Linked DNA regions of Homo sapiens: all the other regions are linked to region 1. The links are contacts of gene promoters, found by promoter capture Hi-C in human tissues and cell types (Jung and others, 2019). All regions are on one chromosome and are shown on one strand. Each heading gives the region's core, a stretch centred on a gene start or on the middle of the fragment in contact. The rest is flanking DNA. Distances are from core to core; before and after follow the strand shown.

The links. The method cuts DNA at HindIII sites, captures the fragments that hold promoters and counts their contacts. A contact is called where the count stands out against the background at its distance.
Region 2: a fragment that was not itself captured here is called in contact with the fragment with the promoter of SDCBP2 in region 1 in 1 of the 25 tissues and cell types used here (H1 embryonic stem cells).
Region 3: a fragment that was not itself captured here is called in contact with the fragment with the promoter of SDCBP2 in region 1 in 5 of the 25 tissues and cell types used here (H1 embryonic stem cells, liver, mesenchymal stem cells and 2 more).

What each region holds. Positions count from the first base shown.
Region 1 is chr20:1,327,001-1,331,381 of GRCh38, reverse strand. SDCBP2 (syndecan binding protein 2) reads left to right here and starts at 2,243. Exons shown (of 9, transcript NM_080489.5): 1 at 2,243-2,297. The region is part of intron 2 of FKBP1A-SDCBP2 (FKBP1A-SDCBP2 readthrough (NMD candidate)); the gene reads left to right. All of the region lies in intron 1 of SDCBP2-AS1 (SDCBP2 antisense RNA 1), which reads right to left. The HindIII fragment of the contact is 26,056 bases long and covers 1-4,381 here.
Region 2 is chr20:1,129,172-1,133,552 of GRCh38, reverse strand. All of the region lies in intron 3 of PSMF1 (proteasome inhibitor subunit 1), which reads right to left. Among named protein-coding and RNA genes, the nearest start is that of PSMF1, 13 kb to the right of the region's middle. The HindIII fragment of the contact is 3,650 bases long and covers 589-4,238 here.
Region 3 is chr20:1,176,272-1,180,652 of GRCh38, reverse strand. It overlaps LOC124904855 (a long non-coding RNA gene), which reads right to left. Exons shown (of 2, transcript XR_007067486.1): 2 at 701-4,381. It overlaps TMEM74B (transmembrane protein 74B), which reads left to right. Exons shown (of 3, transcript NM_001304748.2): 3 at 1-83. Among named protein-coding and RNA genes, the nearest start is that of TMEM74B, 6.5 kb to the left of the region's middle. The HindIII fragment of the contact is 5,387 bases long and covers 1-4,381 here.

The DNA of each region.
Region 1 (4,381 bases), core at 994-3,493:
AGCGTCTGATCCAGAGTCAGAGGCGGGAGAGGCCACATGGATGTGGGGGATCCCAGAGGCTTCCTGGAGGAGCTCAGTGGTGGATGTGGCTAGGTGGGTGGGGGCAGGAGAAGGTGTTCCAGGGGCAGCAGCAGGACAGGCAAAGGTATGGAGTCAGGGCAGGTAGGAAGTGGGTGTGCAGTGGGGCAGGAATGGTGGGGCTCCCAGTCCAGCTGAGGCAGAGGTGCTGGGGGAGTGCTGAGGAGGTAATAAAGGGAGTGGGCTGTGGAGGTCTCCATGTCAGCCCTGGGAGTTTAGCCCAGACCCTGAAGCAGGAGGGAGCCACTGAAGAGTTCGAGCAAGGGCATGCCCAATGAAAGATATTTCCAGGTGGCTGGAAGTCAGTGATGGGTGGCAACTATCCAAAGAGGGAATAGAAAGAGAGTCCCTGTAGGTATTAAATAGGTGGGAGTTAGGGGACCTGGGCTCCATGCTGACATGCTGGGACCACAGGCAAGCCCCTTACCTGGAAGGGCCTGCTTCCTCCTCCCTCTTCTATAAAGGCCCTTTCAGGTCATGACTGAATGAAGTGAGGTGGGGGAGGAGTGGCTTGGTTTAGTTAGGATCTCTATTTTCCACTTTGCTTTGGCCTTGGACACCTGACCTAAGGTGGGTCCATCACCCACGTTACCTCAGCTTCAGGCCCACACAGCTTACTCTGAGGTTGCCCCACACCTCAGCTTTCTGAAACAGTATGTCCCATAGAAGAGAAGACATGAACTTGGCCCACTTTCCAGCTAACTTGAGAGAGAAACTTTGCCTCTGTGCCTCAGTGTCCCCACCTGGAGGAATGGTGTGAGTCACACCTACTCTGCAGGGATGGCATGAGAAGCCATTGAGATAATGCCTTTAAAGTGCCAGGGGTAGAATCTCTGTGCTCTCTGGGAGTAAGTGCTGAATTAGTGGCAAATGTCTTTCTTGTTATTATTCCTATTGTGTGTTTCCTGTGTGGGACTCTGGGCTGTAAGCTCTTCATTGGCAGGCACAAGATCTGACACCCAAGGCTAGTGCAACTCTGCCAGGTGGGTCATGGGAACTGTGACGTAGGCCTGCCTGGCCCAGGAAGCAGCCCAGATACTGACACACCCTGAGTGTGTACAGCGTCAATCCTCATGGGACTGCCCAGCACACGAGTCCCTCGTCCCTCCCCAGGCACCCAGTGCGACAGGCACCCTCACCCAACCAAACCCACCAGGATCTAAACTAAATTCTTCCTCCTTTTCTGTTCAAATTTATATAATTATTTTTGGAATAAGTAGTACATTTAAACTTTTCAAAATTTAAGACACCAAAAATGTGCCATAAAAAAAAAAATCTCCACCTCAGCACACAGCTCCTTAGGTCTGCTCCCAAGAGACAACCACTCTAAATTCCCATTAAAATAATCAAACTTAATTGCTTCCCCCTTACAAAAGTCATGAGCATTCAGAGCAAAAGCTAACTTAAAAAAAAAAAAACCACCTTGGAACACACAAAAGTACAAACTGAAAACCTCACCCTCAATGCTGCCATTCAGAGATACTCAGCATTTTAGCGTATGTCCTCCTAGACTGCTTTCAACGCACATCCACTTTACAAAAAATGAAAACAAAATGCAAGAAGAGATTCACAATATTGATTTTTCAACATCTCACTAGAATCTCAGAAATGTTTCCTCATACCTTCTTCCTTAAGTGACTTTAATAGCTCTGTGATCTTCCACAGACAATGATTTATTCAAGCAGACCACAGAGATGGGCATTTGGGATTTCTACATTTTCCTTACTAGAAGCAGCAGTGATGGATGGGCCCTGTGACTCCACTGTAACAAATTCCTAGAAGAAATGCTGGGTCACAGGATATGACCACTTTTTAATATCCTGGCCTAGACCCCTAGATACCTATCACAAACCGCCCTCTAGCCAACTGCCTCGATCAGCAGGACTAGGTGTCCAACCCAAATTTAGAGCTATTTAAGAAAAGGCCAAGAAGTCTTGGTTCATAACCGTCTGAACAGCAGCTGTGAGGGCCTTAATCCCACCTCCAAATCCAGACTAAGGCCAAAGGCCTCCTCTGGGCTGGCAACCTGCCTTGTTTACCCAGCCACAGCCCTCACCTGTGCCCATCCCAGTCCAAGGTGAGTCAGCTGAACAGGGGACAGGCACCACCCTTCCCAGATCAGGAAGCCAGCTGAGAGACAGGGCTACGTTTCAGGGAGGGAAACAGATTCAGCAGCGGCAGCAGCTGGAGAAGGTCGTGGAGCAGCACCTTGCCTGCAGGTAAGCGCTGGGGGCCCTGACCCAATCCTGGCTGGGATTGGGATGAGTGAGACCTGCTCTCACCCTGTCCCCTTCCCTCCCTGCCCCTTCCCTTCTGGGACTTCCCAGGCAGCTTCCTTTCGAAGTGCTTCACTCCAAGCAGTCAAGTGTGAAGTGGGGTTTCTTCTTCTGATCCCAGCCCTGGACCAAGTTTGATTAAGGGCTGAGTGATTTTCTTCACCCAGACATCATGAGGGCCCCCGATGCCTTCTGACTGCCCATGACTGTGCTCAAGGAGATGAGATCCACACTTTGCTCCTTGAAAGGCCAATTCCAGCCGAAACCAGAGGCTGCAGGCAGGCAAAAAGCCCATTTCTCCCAAGGAATCCACAGCTCAGGCCGACTTCTCTGGCCTGAGGCTGTTTCTATCAAAAAACCTTCCTGCCACAGCACTGAAACACCTGCTGGGGAACTGCGCCAGGGGCTTCACCTTTCTAAGAACTGGTTTCTTCATCTGGAGACTGAAAATAGCCCACAAAGTCAGGAGAATGGAAGGACATACTGGACACAGGAGCCAGTGCATGCCCTCCTCAGCAGGGTCTCAGAAAATGGGGCAGAAAACGAGCCTGGTATGGGCTGGGCGAGCACTGGACAGGCAGCTTCACGTACAGTGGCCCAAGCTCATGACAATTCCACCACCATCACTTCCCACCTGGGCTCCTGCTCCCACTCCTGCCCTGTAGCCCATCCTCCAAACATCAGCCAGAGGAGGCCTGTCAAAATAACCCTTGGACCTTGGCACTCTGCTGCTACAAATCCCCCAGTGGCTCCCATCTCACTACAGTAAATGCCAAAGTCCTCACCATGACCTCCAGGCCCTCCAGGATCTGGCCCCTCTCACTTCTCCAGCTTCCTCCCCACTACTCCTCCTTACTCCCTCTCTGCACAACTGGCTTCTCACTGGCAGATGTCCTCTAAACACAACACCAACTCCCACCTGAGAGGCTCTGCAATGGCCGTGCCCACCCCATTAGGCCTTTCCTCAAATGTCACCCCACCCAGCCAGCAAGGCTTCTGAACCTCCTGACATGACCCTCCGTCCTGCTCTTTCTCTCCAGTGCCTCCCACCATCTAACACAGCACACAGAGTCACAAAGCCTATTTATCCAGCTCTTCCCCCAAAGAAAGTACATTTGGGGACCAAGTCTTCTTTCCTTCACTGCTGATACCTAGAACAGTACTCAGACTTAGCAGGTGCTGAGTAAGTAAGCGCTGAAACAATGAATAAACAGCTAACTTTTACTGAATGCCTATTATGTGCTAGGTGCTGTGCTAAATGCTTTCCATATACACCTTAACTCTTTTTAAAAATCTTTCAGTCTCCAGACAACTGTGATGCAACTATTGTTATCCAGATTACAAAGGAAGAAATGACATTCAAAGGGGATTTGCCTATGCTGTGCTCTCACAAGTCAGAAGCAGTCAGTCTGAACCCTGCCCTGCCTGGGCCTGGGTTCAGGCGTGTCTGCTTGAGGAAGTCACAGCTTTTCCCCAGCAGGCAGTGCAGCACTGAGAGGAGGAGTGGGGGTACATGCTGGTGGCCTAGCAACAGCTTCTTCTATTCCGACTCACCACATCCCTGGGCTAATTTGGCCTTCCAGGAGCTATTCCTCTGACACTCTAACCCACGCTTCCCTCCCGCGCACTGTCTTGTAAAGGACGGATGAGCTGTCCACAGGAACGAGTGGGAGTTCCATCACTTCAGCTCTTTGGAACAAAGTGTTCCAAAGAGTGTTCTCACTCTAAGTTCAAAGATGGGGGCTGAAGTCCCCTTGTCAGCCCTGCTGATCTCCGAAGCCCAGCTATTGGTTTGTTGTGGGTGTTGTTATTGCTTATATCAAAAAGTACAGAAGCTCAGGGATGGAAATCTGGAAAGGGCTGTGGGAGAGGAAAATTCCTCTGAGAGAGAGGGGTTAGGTGGGTTCTTTTCCTTTCGGAGGAACCAATTACTTGTGGGAAGCCATCAGCACAGAACTGAGCAAACTTCCACTGTCAGATTATAGGAGCCAGGCAGCCTTTCAACCTAACTCGTTAGGGCCATGGTT
Region 2 (4,381 bases), core at 1,164-3,663, 200 kb after region 1:
ATATATAGACTAGTATATCCTATGAACTTACACACAAAAAAAATCCTCAACAAAATATGAGCAAATTGAATTTAAAAATGTATAAAAAGAACTATATGCCATGACCAAGTATGATTTGTTCTAGGCATGCAAGACTGGTTAATAGTCACAAATCAATCAACGTAATCTACCATATCAATAAGCTATGGAAGAAAAATCATATGATCATATCAATTGATACAGAAAAAAGCTTTTGACAAAATCCAACATGATAAATCCATTCAAGATTAAAAACTCTCAACAAACTAAGAATAAAGGGGAACTTCTTTAACCTGATAAAGAACATTTACAAAAAACCTACCCCTAACAATATACTTTACTGTGAAAGACTGAATGCTTTGCTCCTAAGATTGGGAACGAGGAAAGCATATTCTTTCTCATCACTCTTATTTAACATAATATTGGACATCCTGACCACTGCAATAAGGCAAGAAAAACAAAAGGCATTCATATTAGCAAGTAAGGAATAAAACTGTCCCTATTTGCAAATGACATGATAGTCTACCCTGAAATTCCCAAGGAATCTACCAAAAAAAAAAAAAAACAAAAAAACCCTAAACACCTTGAATTCAGCAAGGTGACAGGATAGAAGAGTTCAACACAGGAAAATCAACTACATTTCTACACACTAACAATGAACATTTGAAAACCAAAACAAAGGACAGAATATGCCATTCATAATCATCTCCCTTTCTGCTTTAAACAAATAACAAGCTATGTACAGGATCTATATGTTGAAAATTACAAATGATACTGATGGAAATCAAATAAAACCTAAATATTAATAAATGGAGAGATAAGATATATCATGTTCATAGCAAGAATGTCAATTCTCCCCAAACTAATCTATAGGTTTAATGCAACTCCTATCAAAATCCTAGCAAGGTTTTTCATAGATATACACAAGCTTACTCTAAAGTTTATATGAAAAGGCACAGAGGCCAGGTGCGGTGGCTCACGTCTGTAATCCCAGCACTTTGGGAGGCTAAGATGGGTGGGTCACGAGGTCAGGAGATCGAGACCATCCTGGCTAACATGGTAAAACCCCGTCTCTACTAAAAATACAAAAAATTAGCCAGGCATGGTGGCACGCATCTGTAGTCCCAGCTACTCAGAAGGTTGAGGCAGGAGAATCACTTGAACCCCGGAGGCAGAGGTTGAAGTGAGCCAAGATCACACCACTGCACTCCAGCCTGAGCCTTTTTGAGACACAGTGAGACTCTGTCTCAAACAAAGAAAAAAAAAAAGAAAGAAAAAAGAAAAAAAAGAAAAGGCACAGAACCTAGAATAGCTACAACTACCTTGACGAAGAAAAAGTGGGAGGAATTATTCTACTCAATATTAAGGCCTACAATAATCAATACTGATAGAGTAATATTGACAGAGGAAGAGACATAGAGATCAATGGAAAAGAACAAGGGATCCAGAGATAGATCCACAGATGTACAGACAACTGATTTTTGACAAAGTTTCAAAAGTAATTCAATGAAGGAATAACAAATGATGTTGGGGCCATTGGACATCCATGGGTAAAAAATGAGCTGCTTGCCTGCCCAAGCTGGGTGGGAGGGTAAATTCAAGTCTTCTTTCCTTTTAATCAGATCAGAGGGAGGCCTCTGATCTCCCTAGGCATGTGTAAAATTCAGGCCTGATTAAAAAACCACCAGGTCCTGAAGGAGAAGTTCTCACACAATTTCTAAGCCTTGAAAGAACAACTGCCATTTTGGTTGTGGCAAAAGACAGCCTACCATCTCATCCGACACAGAAAGGGTACAGCAGAATGGAACACAATAGGTTTATATTTCTTAGCAAATCACAGTTTGCTCACTGAGGAGCACAAATTGCTGGAAGAGGCAAGACATGCCACAATGACCTAATAAAGAGGGCTACATGGAGGAAGCTATGGCTGAAAGGCATAGGAGGGAGACAGGGCCTCTGATCAGGAGGCAGAGCCATACCTCAGCTTTCACCGCCCATTTCCACGGAGATGACTCCTGGTGATCACATTTTTTTCCCCTTTGTGTATTTTACTAAGAGCTGGACTAAGCGCTAAGCACTCTATGTGCTGACATCTCATTCCATTCTCAGAAAAACCCTGAGGTAGTACTATTGTGTCCCTCATTTCACAGTAATCAAAAAACAAAACAAAACACAACACATATCCCCTCCCTCACACACAAACCCCTCAAACAAATGTACTTAAAAAACAAATAGAGACAGGATCACAATTCTCTTTCAGTATTGCTGAACAGACGGAATGCTCTAATGAGCATGAATGGCCAGTATAATTCCTAGGTTCTTCCACAGGTTTTGTCAATTTCTCTCCCAGTGGAAGTCCAGAGTGAAGAAGTCAAGAGACCACACTCCAAATGTCCCTCCCTTACCCACTAAGAGGGGCCAGGGTGTCAGGGAGTGTGCAACACCCAGAGGCGCGGCATTCTGCCGGCCAGGCCTGGCTCACTTCCCCCTTTCCTCAGAGGCGCAGCATTCTGCCGGCCAGGCCTGGCTCACTTCCCCTTCCCTCCCTTTGTCTATTGCATGCAGAAGACACCCAAACCCTGCCCTCAAGGAGATCACAGGCAAGGAGGGAAGACCAACCCTAAGAAGGTAAATGTAAAATATCTGATGGATTAAATGCTTAAAAAATGATGTTTTGATCCAGGGCAACACAGCAAAGACCTCATCTCTACAAAAAATAAAAAACTGGCTGGGCATGGTGGCACATGCCTGTAGACCCAATTATTTGGGAGGCTCAGGTGGGAGGGTCACTTGAGCCCAGTAGGTTGAGGCTGCTTGGCCTGTTTATAAGTGAGCTGATTGTGCCACTGTACTCCAGCCTGCCTGGGCAACAGAGGGAAACCTGACTCCAAAAAAAACATTTTACTAAAATGTTTTGAAGCTGTAAGCCTGGGGGCCAGAGGAAGCTTCTCTAAGGAACTGACGTTTAAATCGGTAACCAAAAGATAAACAGGAGTTGGCTACGTGAGGTCAGGGAGAGCACTTTAGACAGAGGGAAGAGGTCTGAAGAGGGCAGAAGAATGACACTGTGGCTGAAGCACAGGGATGCGGGGAAGGCAGTACAAGGTGAGATTGAAGGGGTGAATGCTTTAAGGCCTCATCAAGGATTGTGCTCTTTATCCTAACAGCAATGAGTATTCCCTAAAGACTTTTAACTGTGGTAAAATATGCATAAAATTTACCATCTTAACCATTTTTAAGTGTTCAGTACTGTTAAGTACATTAACACTGTTGTGCAATCACCTACCATCCATCTCCAGATCTCTTTTCATTTTGCAAAACAAACTCTGTACCCATTAATCACTAACTCCCCTTCCTATTCCCCTCTTGCCCCAGTATCTGGCAACCACCATCCACTGTCTGTCTCTACAAATTTGACTAATCTAGGTACTTTTAATAGAATCACACAGAATTTGTCCTTTTGTGAATGGCTTATTTAATTTAGTATAATGTCTTCAAGGTTCATCCATGTTGTAGCACGGGCCAGAATTTCCTTCCTTTTTAAAGCCGAATAATATTCTACTGTATTTACATACCAAATTTTGTTCATCCATTCATCTTATCAATGGACAGCCAAGCTGCTTTCACCTTTTGGCTACTGTGAATAATGCTTCTACGAACATGGGTGTACAAATATCTTTTCAAGACCTACTTTCAATTCTTTTGGGTATATGCCCGGAAGTGGACATGCAGGATTATACGGTAATTTTTTGAAGAACTGTCATATTGTTTTCCATAGTGGCTGCACCATTTTACATTCCCAAGAGTGCACAAGAGTTCCAATTTCTCCACATCCTTGACAACGCTTGTTTATTTTCTGGTTATTCTGATACTACCCATCGTAATGGGTGTGAAGCAGCATCACTGAAGGGTTTTAAGCCAGAGTTGTTAACTATGATCTGATCTATGTCTGAAAGACTGGTCCAACTGCTGCGTGGGAAATACACTGGAGGGTGGCATGCAGGAGGGGAATATGTAAAAGACCTCCTCACACAGAAGCTGCATGGAAGAGGGGAGGAGAAATGAGGAGTGGCCAGAATGTGGAGGCCAGTGGTTTGAAAGTCTGTGAGGACTGGAATAGGTTCAAAGAGGGTATTGCTGATTAGATACTATTAAATGCAACAGGGTTTCTGGGCAGTTCTGAGGTTCGGTTAAGGTTTGATAACTGTGCATTTATAGTGATGCCAAGCTCACTCTAAAACTCTGAGGGTGGCTAGGTGCGGTAGCTCACACCTGTAATCCCATCACTTGAGGTCAGGAGTTCGACACCAGCCTGGCCAACAGCAAAACCCTGTCTCTATTAAAAACGCAAAAATTGGCTGGG
Region 3 (4,381 bases), core at 814-3,313, 150 kb after region 1:
CTGTTTTGTAGCTGAGGTTTTGCATACGGTTTTGTTTGGAGGATGGCTTCTGCTGCTAAAAATACAAAAGTTTGGAAACCGCTGCTCTTGGAGGATGAGGTTTCTTGGCATTTCTCAAGATTGGGAGCTGTTTGAAAGGTTGCCCATCCTCTTCCCTCATGCCTTGGGGAGTGAGGGACCTCTGCTGTCCTTATTGGCTGAGTGAGGGTGTTGATTGGCCGTGGAGGGGTCCCTTTCAGCCCTGATCATCTAAGGTGGGGGAGGTGGCTTCATGATGAGGGGAGAAGTCAGCACCAGAGTGACCCCCAGTACCCCCACTGACTAAACTGTGATCCTACCCTCACCAGGCCTCAGTTGCCCTGCCTTCAAGTGAGGGGGTTGGACTGGATGACCCCTCAGGTCCCTCTAGTTCTTCCCTGGGAATGGGAACCCAGTCTCTATCTCCAGTCACCCCTCCAGGGCAGGAAGGCATCCACCAGGCACTAACCATTCTCCCTGCCATTTTCTGGCCTGACCTCAGGGACCACCACAGCCAGCAGCTCTCATGGTCTCAGGGAAGAGCTCCCTGGTGGGGTTGGGTTCAGTTCAAAGTTTGCTACAGCCTGGTTTTGGTCTTGGGGTCTAATTTCCTGCAGTGACACATTTTTACAAAGCCAAGTGCACAATATTACCCAGTTCTCTGGGCAAGAAGGATCTTTTACACAGGAAAGGGTGAGGGCTTTATTGTATTTCTGTGGGCATGATGCAGGCCTTGATCACCTTCTCCTCCATAGTATGTCTCTTGCTCCTGACCTTATTTGGATAACAGGAAAAAAAAAAATTTATGCTGAATTTGTAACCTTAGTCTCCCTCATATAGTAGTAAAGTGAAGCCACAGTTTATTTGGGGGAGAAATCAGGCACATTTGGGTGGCCTGGACACGCTGGCCACATTGCCATTTGTGTTTTTCTTATGAAATGTTTCTAGGTTCCTGCAGACTTTCTTTAAACTCTTGGTAAGGAAAGGAAGTAGGCCCTGGGGCAAGGAGATACAGGTGTTTGAGGACTGTGGGGAGGCATCCTTCAGTCTGAATGGACCCAGAGGGCTTTGAGAGCACATGCCTTCTAAGCCACTGGTGTAGAGACCCTACAGGAGCCATTTTAGTGAATCCCCTGCCCAATGTAGGTCCTACTTACTCCATCTCAGTTGGCCACATGGGCCGAGGATCCTGTTCCTTGGGGGTGGGAGGGTGGGGGGGCATGGGGTCTGTAGTGTAGAGAGGCCCTGATTAGCTGTAACTTGAGCCTTCAGTCCAGTGAGTTAAACATCTGGGGAGTGTAATATCACAGCTTCTATGACAGATCAAATATCTGCTCCTACTGGTAGGTTTTACCAAGAGCAGAGAGCTAGAGGAAGACTGGAAAGGACAAGGGTTGTTTAGCTTGGCTTCCCAGGTTTTTGTTGTGGTATTGAAGGGGTATGGTGTGGAAAGAGCAAAGCTCCAAGATGGTAAAAGATTCACAAGTCCTAGGCTTCCACTGTTGTGTCGCTTTCTCCCAGGCTCCAAGTAGGCACAGCCACAGAACGTGGCATGAGCTGTTCTAAGTAAACTACATAGGATTGGACATCCCAAATCATGGGCTAAGGCTTTTCAATCCATAATGATAATTAAAAAAATATCAACCAAGTCATATGGATTACTGTGATGGTGGCAGACTCATTTGGATACTAAACCTGTTGAGTGAATGCATCTGGGACCATCAGTTCATATCAGTTTAAATGCAATGAGTTTATTTAGGGGAGAAATTGGGCATATTTGGGTGGCCTGGACATGCTGGCCGCACTACCATTTGTTTTTTTCTTACGAAATGTTTGATGTTAATCATCAAACAGATTTAGGGGCTAAATCTGTTTGATGATTAAATCCCAGGAGTCTCAGGTTTTTCTAAGCCAGAGAAGCCTGCTTTGCATTCTAATGTTGAAAGTCCTTTAGAAAATGTGTATAATGGACTGAGGCGTTATTACCTTGTCAGTGAATTAAGAAAACTTAAGAGATGACAAAAGCATTTCCCCATGATTACAGCTGAGATCTGCCAGCTGATGGATCAGAAACAGGTTTAAGGAGGAGGTGATTAGGAACACGGAGTAGGATGCTGAGAACTTTCTTTGCAGGCATTCCAGGGGCCTCTGTGGTTACTGGAATGTGCCTCTCCTCCAGGAACTGCCTCTCCCACCTAACCTGCTCCTAGGGCCCCAAACCTTGCTTTTCCTGGTGCATCAGAACAGATACCGATTTTGGAGTTGGTAAGACTAAAGTTGGAATCCAGGCTCTGCCACTTACTGGCTGTGTGACCTTGGGCAAGTTACTCCACCTCTCTGAGTCGGGATTTCTCTATCTGTGAAGTGGGATTAATGAAAGCTCTGCCTCAGGGTGGTGGTGCAGATTACAGATAAAATGGAGAACTGCATAGTATGAGGTCCAGGGATGATGATGCTCTCCTTCCCCACCTCAACTGGGGATAGCTGGATTAGGCCTCAAACGCTGTGGTCAACCCTTCTGCCTTTCTTCTATCACACCTCACATTCCAGATCAGCGCATCTTGTCAGCTCCACTTTCAGAATCTGATTGCTGTCCACCCTCGGCTGTCACCGCCAGTCCAGGGTTGCTCACTGGTGTTCTGGCTTTCTCTCTTACCCCCTTCTCCTCCCCTCCTCCCCGCCCCATCACCAGGTTCATGCTCCACTCAGCAGCCAGAGGAAGGCCAGAGGCTGGTCAGGTCAGGCCACTCCTCTGCTCAAAACTCTCCTATGGCTCCCTCTCCAGGCAAAAGCCAAAATTCTCACCACAACCAGTGGCAGATTTATAGCAAGACTGGCAAAGCTTAAGTGTCCGGGCCTCTCACTAGCACAAGCCCCTTCCAAGGCCCTGAATTGGTTTATCTATCTTGAGGATGCCCCACTGGACTGCATAAGCTTCAGGTACCCCCAAACCAGGGTTCATCCCTCACAGTGGCCTACAAGGCACTAAGCAATTGGGACCCTGTGCTTCTCTGACCTCATCTCTCACCCCTTACCCCTTGCTCACTCACCCCAGCCACACGTGCCTCTTGACCATTCCTCAACCTTACTGGGCACGCTCACATCCAAGGGACTTCAGACGTGCTGCTTCTTCTGCCTGGAAGGTACTTCCCCTCAGTATCTGCAAGGCCCACTCCCTCACCTCCTTAGGGGCTTTATTCAAATATCTTCTCCTCAGTGAAGCCTTTGCTGAACACCATATTTAAATTTGTACCCCACCCCACCTCATTCCCTTTTGTCCTTCGCTGCCTTATTTTTCTCTGATCACTAATCATGACCCAGCAGGCTGAGCCTTGTACTTGTCTTTCCCACCCACGACCTCTCCTGCTGGACTGCAAGCTCCATGAAAGCCGGAATTTTGGTCTAACTGGTTCTTGCTGTACTCCCAGTGTTAGAAACATGTTTGGCACATAGTAGGTGCTCACTGTTGAATGAATGGATGAATAAATGTAACAAAAGCTTCTTATACCTGCCAGTGCTGCAGAGCCATATGCAGGACCCAGGAGGCCCATGGTTCCTTCCCAGACTCCTGGAGCCCTCTCTAGGGGTGAGGATCAGTTGTGCAAAGGATCACATGCCTCAAAGGTGCTGATTTTGTCACTGGGCCCTGCAGCTGGGAACTTGGGAATCCATTTGCCTTCCTCTCCCTGGGCCTTGGTAGGGCTTTATGTGGAAGGGTTAGAGGGGTGTCCCTCAGAAGACCCTTCTCCCCTAACCTTGTTGGGACATACCCAGGTTCCAGCTAAACCTGGGAGACATTTGCTGGGTGTTTAGGGGCCTGTGAGAAACCAGCCGGATTCTTCCCATCCAAGGACCTTGAGTGCCCAGGCCTGGCCCTTTGGAACCCCAGTATCCATGATCACATCTACTCACTTACCTCAGGCATCTCCCAGCCCAAAATGCCAGCTGCCTGAGATTCCACCATTTTTGCTCCCTTCCTTGAGAATAAGCATTAATTTCCCTGGGATTCTCTTTAAAATGTCCTCACTGAATGGACATGTCTGTACATACACATGTGCATATGTGCAAGAGCACACACATGCGCTTGCACGTACACACACACACACAGAGCTTTCTCTTGTCTGACCAAGCCCAGAGACCAAGGACACCTATCTTGTAAAGCAGCTTCAAGCCAGGACATCCTCTGGATGATTGACGACATTTTCTGTTTCTCCACCAGCCATAGGCCTTGCAGTTCCCAGAATGCCAACCTCACAGCAACAATCAAGTTTCTCCTCCCCAGGCGAGGCTGGTTTCTCTGTATTTTTCCTGCTTCCCCCGCCCTTAGCAGGATGGGGAGAGATGTCCAGAAGCATTTCTGTCC